Regions from separate parts of the Homo sapiens genome. Here region 1 is linked to region 2. Evidence: promoter capture Hi-C in 16 types of primary human blood cells and fetal thymus (Javierre and others, 2016). All regions are on one chromosome and are shown on one strand. Each heading gives the region's core, a stretch centred on a gene start or on the middle of the fragment in contact. The rest is flanking DNA. Distances are from core to core; before and after follow the strand shown.

What was found. The method cuts DNA at HindIII sites, captures the fragments that hold promoters and counts their contacts. A CHiCAGO score of 5 or more calls a contact.
Region 1: a fragment that was not itself captured here is called in contact with the fragment with the promoter of AIFM1 in region 2 in 1 of 17 cell types (M0 macrophages); the score reaches 10.6 in M0 macrophages.

The regions. Positions count from the first base shown.
Region 1 is chrX:131,811,368-131,814,554 of GRCh38, reverse strand. All of the region lies in intron 2 of FIRRE (firre intergenic repeating RNA element), which reads left to right. Among named protein-coding and RNA genes, the nearest start is that of FIRRE, 18 kb to the left of the region's middle. RefSeq lists an enhancer at 1,225-1,494. The HindIII fragment of the contact is 418 bases long and covers 1,138-1,555 here.
Region 2 is chrX:130,163,950-130,167,175 of GRCh38, reverse strand. AIFM1 (apoptosis inducing factor mitochondria associated 1) reads left to right here and starts at 1,335. Exons shown (of 16, transcript NM_004208.4): 1 at 1,335-1,625. The coding sequence starts at 1,520. It also overlaps a transcript of RAB33A not described here. RefSeq lists an enhancer at 1,347-1,686. The HindIII fragment of the contact is 8,785 bases long and covers 1-3,226 here.

The DNA.
Region 1 (3,187 bases), core at 97-2,596, 1.6 Mb before region 2:
GCGGTGGCCTTATAATAAAAGGGAAAAGGAAAAGGAAAAATTTCAAAACCCAAGGAGATCTGCAAACTATGGGGAAGCCTAAAGTCATACCAACAAACCCATGAGTGTCACACATACACGTACTCATGCAAATATTCAAATGGAATAGATTTAGAAGAGAGCAGAAGAAAGAATATCAAAATACTCATGCTTGTTTTCATGGACTGCTCAGCATTTTCTCTAAAGGATCATGTACAGAGATCATCCCTGGTACGAAAGAGTGGTACTAAAGAGGCAAGTTTTCTGGGGGTCCTGATGTACTCAACTCCCTGAAGGATATCTTGTCAGGCCTACAAGGAATCTTCATCAGAAAAAGGCTAAGGAGCAGGCACAGAGAACAATACTTGCTAATCTTAATGAACAGTTAGATCCTGAGCCTTAAAAGCCTCATCTTCCTTAGAAGAAAGCTAAAGAAACCATTTCTGTCCCATTAAGAGAGATGAAATGAGAGCAGATCCCTCCACGTGGGTATGCCTTCACAATGGACCCTAGAAAAAAATGCTGCAAAGCCACTACAGCTGTTAACTCCTGGGCTCAGAGAATACCTCCAGGCCTTCTGGTTGTGTATATCTGCACTCTTATTGATGTTCTGGAATTTATTGACTTGGCACAGTGACACATGCTCCTTTTCCTCAGATCCTTCTTGCTCTAGGCAACAGAGGCACCAGACTTTTGGTGTCCCTGAGACCTCCAGCTGCTGTTAGATGCCACCTCGAATGAGATTCATTTCCCCCTCCTCACATTCTAACGTTGCTAACATTGGGGCCCATACCCCAAAGTACAGGGATATCTTGTGCCAGCCCAAATGTCTCATGGTCTAAGGGGCAGGGTCAGGAGACCAATGCCCAGAAGCTGTGTGTAGACTGTAGTTTTTCCATAGTCCTGCCCACAGTGAGAGGAAACCAAAGCCCTGCATCAGTCCTGGTACCTTACTTAGCAGCTTCTTCACTGAGATTTTGCCTTTGTCCAGACTGAACTCCTGGAAAGCCTAAGAGTTGAAGTTGAGAAGGCCCATCTTGGGGTCAGGCCCTGTTGAACCTTTGAATTTGCTACATCTTTCTTAACTGCTAGATAGGAGGGAAGTTCAAACCCGAAGCTTTTGCTTTTGTCAAACTACTTCCTCGCGATGGCAGTATGGGCCCAGAAAAGCCAACTAACCCTGCCCCCAGGCCTTCTTCTCCCTCCCATTCCATCTGAAAAAAACCACCACTAACAGGCAAAGCCACCAGGAAATATGGCTACCTTGTGTCTTGCCCAGTTTGAAGAAACTTGCTCACACCGCTGCGCTTTTGCTTTTGCTTTCCATATACAATCAAACTGAAGCCTAAAACCACCCACTCTCATTAGGCATCTTTTCTTTTCAGTAATTCAGTTTCCTCTACTACAGCTTCATAGATCTCCTCATCGGTCACCATTAGATATGCAGGATTTTCCCCATTTTCAAGTTTTCTGATACAAGGTTCAAGTCCCAAGGAGTCCGTGCATGAGGAAAAGATATTGCTGGAACTCCAAAGCTTGTATGAGGCTTGGCTATCTGTCTCCATCAGACGTTGTGGTCTTTGACCTGGCTCATTTCCCAGGCTCTTATGGCGTACTCCATTTTCTGGCTCACATATTTTAGAAAGTAACCAAAATGGCATCCTTCTTTTTAAATGTCTTTCCAGATGGAGAACTCACTAATAAATATTTCAGTTGCTCAAACTTGATGTTCAAAATAAATACTCATATTTAGCTATTATCATTTAAAGACATCAGAGTTAAGCTGTTCCATAGGTTTTGAACTAATATGTTAAAACATTATCAACTTTATCGTATGACCTTTTCTTACACTTTTATATTTTTATGCCTCATATATTCATGTTTTAATTTTCACATACACGATGCTTTGAATGAATAAAGAAACAACACATTTTAAATAATTAATTGGGCAGTTAGGTAGAGAATGTACATTGTGTATCCTCCTTAGATAATTGTATAATTTATTGTCCAAGTTGGACAACTGTGTGAACCGTGACTTCCTAAGGCACACTGAAAGGAATGTTCACCCTATTTATCATTCCACAGTCTTGAGACAAACACTGATCACATCTTTATGCTTTATTTACCTAAATATATTGATAATTTTTTTTTTTTGAGATGGAGTTTCGCTCTTGTTGCCCAGGCTGGAGTGCAATGGCACAATCTCAGCTCACCGCAACCTCCGCCTCCCAGGTTCAAGCGATTCTCCTGCCTCAGCCTCCCTAGTAGCTGGGATTACAGGCATGTGCCACCACACTCGGCTAATTTCGTATTTTTTTTTAGTAGAGATGGGGTTTCCCCATGTTGGTCAGGCTGGTCTCAAACTCCCGACCTTAGATGATCTGCCCGTCTCGGCCTCCCAAAGTGCTGGGATTACAGGCATGAGCCACCGTGCCCGGCCTTTTTTTTCTATTTTTGAGACAGAGCCTTGCTCTGCCACCCAGGCTAGAGAGCAGTGACGCAATTTCGGCTCACTGCAACCTCTTGCTTCCTGGGTTCAAGTGATTCTCCTGCCTCAGCCTCCCAAGTAGCTGGGATTACAGGCGTGTGCCACCGTGACCAGCTAATTTTTATATTTTTAGTAGAGACGGAGTTTCGCCATGCTGGCCAGGCTGATCTCGAACTCCTGACCTCAGGTGATTGGCCCGCCTTGGCCTCCCAAAGTGCTGGGAGTACAGGTGTGAGCCAGTGCGCCTGGCCGATAAATTTTAATTTGTATATACACATACATGTTTACAAAAATTGGGCATTGTCCTGCATATTTTTTCTTTTATACTTTTTCTCTTGGTTATAGTATGAGCATTTTGACAGTTGTACTTTAGTTATCCAAAAGTATAATTTAAAAATATGAAAATAGCTATTTATTTATAAGAAATAGAAATATTTTTATTTATATAAATATTTATAAGTAGAAATATTTAAAATTAAAAGTAATAGACTCAATACAGAATATTTAGAAAATATGGAATTCAGATAAGTGAACACAAAATGACCTATCGTATTACTATAATCTGTATGTATTTTTTCTTTAAACACCAATTGCATAATAGCGTATGTTGGATTTTTTTCCCTGATATTTCTATTTTCTCCTCTTTAATCCACTCTTCATTTTTCTCTACTTCTCTGTGTA
Region 2 (3,226 bases), core at 86-2,585:
CTTTGGTCCGAAAGTATTCACCATCTGAAATATCAATCCTTTTCCTCTACTGTTTGAATTTTACTACTCATCCTTCAAGACACAACTCAAATAACTTCTTACACGAAGTTCTACCATAGTGATTCCATCCCATAGTCTTCTCTCTTGCTCTGTCCGGCACTACACCAGATATTATTTCAATGACCGGTATATGTCATCTCCCCAACTAGACAGTGGCCACTTCCTATATAGATGCTATGTCCAAATAAACCCATTGTAAACTGAAAATATCGTTAAGTCGAAACTGCATTTAATACCCTGATAAACCCATCATAAAGTCAAAAAACCGTAAGTTGAACCATGCTTAAGTCCAGATGCTCCTCGACTGACATGGGGTTAGGTCTCATTAAACCCATCATAAAGTCGAAAAATTGTAAGTCGAACCATTGTGAGGGGTAAGTCGGGGACCATCCGTACTTTTCATACCCAACAGAGCCCCTTTTATAGTACAATCCAAGAGGTAAGTGCTCAATAAATACTTGTTAAATGAATATGTAAGCTGAATCTTTGAAACAGGCACATTGTATGTTCTGCATGCAGCCAAAACATTATTTCCAATTTAGCTTATATCTGGCAGAGTCAAAACACTTATTTACACTCAGCCCCTCACCCTACTCCCATAACTGAAAGTTCTGCTTAGCAGACTTCTCTTCCCAGAAAGTCCGAGAAGCACGAACGCTTTTTGCTAACATCCTGCTCCCAAGCACAGAAACCACAGCAGGAGACTGTGTGTATCTGTAGCACCTGGTATACAGCATCTAGGACACACAACTGAACTAATAAATAAAGGTGACAGGCGGGAAGAAGAGCGCAGAATTACTTGTCCAGGAAACGGGTTGGGTGGGAAAGAGCCGGCAACTGGTAAAAGATGGAAGTACACGCCGGATCTGGGAAGCCAGGTTCCGCGCCTCGGACTCATGGAAAAACTGGATCTGGATCACTGCAAAAGAATCAGGAAGGCTTCGGTATCAAGTAACTGGTGTCCTAAAACCAAAAAACAAAGTGCGATGCCGGGGCTACGCTGTTGTGAGATGCTGTTATCAGTTCTCGTCACCAACACAGCGGCAGCACCAGGCACAACCGCCAATCAAAGCGGCCCCACGAGTCCCTCCTTGAACAGGTTCCTTAACTCGTTCAGTCCAACACTGTGCCACAAACTCGCGAAAACCGGCTACCTAGAGCCAGCGTCTTTGCGAGCTTGCGGCCAGCTAGTGCATGCGCAAATCCTCTCGCCGTGCGGACCAATCGCAATGCGGCAGCGAGTGCTACGCCTGCGCAGTAGGCCTCCGGTCGCCGTTCCCCTTCCCCGGCTCTAGCAGGCCGGCTTCTCTGTCCAATGCCCACCCGGAGCTGGGAGGAGGAGTCTGCGTAATGTGCGTGTGAAGAGACTGGGGGAGCTGGCCGGGGCTCACGGTGTTTGACCCGTCGGTCGTGCGTGAGAGGAAAGGGAAGGAGGAGGTCCCGAATAGCGGTCGCCGAAATGTTCCGGTGTGGAGGCCTGGCGGCGGGTGCTTTGAAGCAGAAGCTGGTGCCCTTGGTGCGGACCGTGTGCGTCCGAAGCCCGAGGCAGAGGAACCGGCTCCCAGGTGACTGACCCATTCCAGGCAACCTCCAAGTCCGAGGGCCTGGCGCCTTAGGCTCCCTGTGCCTTGCAGCCCTCTACCCCCGCGTCCCCGCGAGAAACTTAACACATAGTCACGTGAATTCCAAATTGGCAGACTCCGAACCCTGAGTCTTGCAAGCGGAGGAATTGGCTCAGCCATGCCGACCTGACCTTCAAGAGATTTGAACCCAGTAGTCGGCTTGAGGCCTTTTCCCGGGAGCGTTTGCTGTTCAGGGATCCCAGAACAACTGGCTGTCGGCGCCTCCCCGGCATCCCCACCCCCCACCCCCCTTTTTAGAGCAATGAGGTCAAGTAGACTTTGTCATTTACCGATTGAGACTTTAAACAGGACGTTTAAGCCCTACGCCTAAGTTTCTTGTGTAAATGAGGGTGTTATCTGCTCAGCCTTCCAAACCACAGATGAGATCCATGGATTTGAATGCCCAGTGAAACAGAAACGGTGCAGGGCAAGTAAGGAGTCGGTTGGTTGTGTACCAGACACCCAGAGAATTGGCCCAGACTTAATTGGAGATGCCTGAGCCGTGTACTTCTTGGTGGTCTTTAAGGCTTCAAAGAAACAGTTTGCAGAACGCATTGTATTTTGTTCTCCATTAAGTTGTTTCATCAAATTTTAGAGCTGGAAGGGATTTTGTGGTAAAGGTCAACCCACTCATTTTATAGATAATAAACTGAGGCACAGAGAGGTGAAATTACTTGCCAAAGGTCACATAGTTAATTAATAGGTAGAGCTAAGGATAGTTTGCTAGCCTCCAGGTCCTTAATCCCTTCGCTGCAACTCCATACTGCTTCCTAAAGTTGACCTCAAAAAGTTAAGAATGAATTCGGGTCTCTTCCCAGTAATTAGCCCATTGTACATCAGATATCCGTGAATTTATCTGAGCATGGCTTGAGCCTGCTTCTTTTCGTACTGCGTTACTTCATGGGGGCAATGAATGATCCACCTGTAGGAGTTGCTTTGAAAAAAAAATCAGTAATCCTTCAATGTCCACCCCTAGGGCATTTGCAATGTCAGAAGTTATCCTTGAGGCTTTTACAATACAGAAACACCTGGGTGCTTTAAAAATAAAAAGTGGAAAATATTTTCCTTGGGTTGTTAGGGTCTTTGCAAATGTGCATTTGAACAGTTTTTCCAGTTGCTATGCACAATGAAAATGTTTCCTGATAGGTGTATTTGAGTTATGTCCTGGGACATACTGCTCTTGGAACTTAAAACCTCTGCTTAGCTTTTAAACTAATGCCTTATCAATGGATGTCATCTTTGAGGGTTTTGTGTATTGAAATGATGGTGCTCTGTGCTTGTTGCACAGAAATTGAGATAACCTGAATTTTTTTTTTTTTTTTTTTTGAGACGGAGTCTCGCTTTGTCGCCCAGGCTGGAGTGCAGTGGCGCGATCTCGGCTCACTGCAATCTCCGCCTCCCGGATTCACGCCATTCTTCTGCCTCAGCCTCCAGAGTAGCTGGGACTACAGGCACCCGCCACCACGCCCGGCTAATTTTTTTTTTTTTTTTTTTGTATTTTTAGTAGAGACAAGGTTTCACCATGTTAACCAGGATGGTCTCGA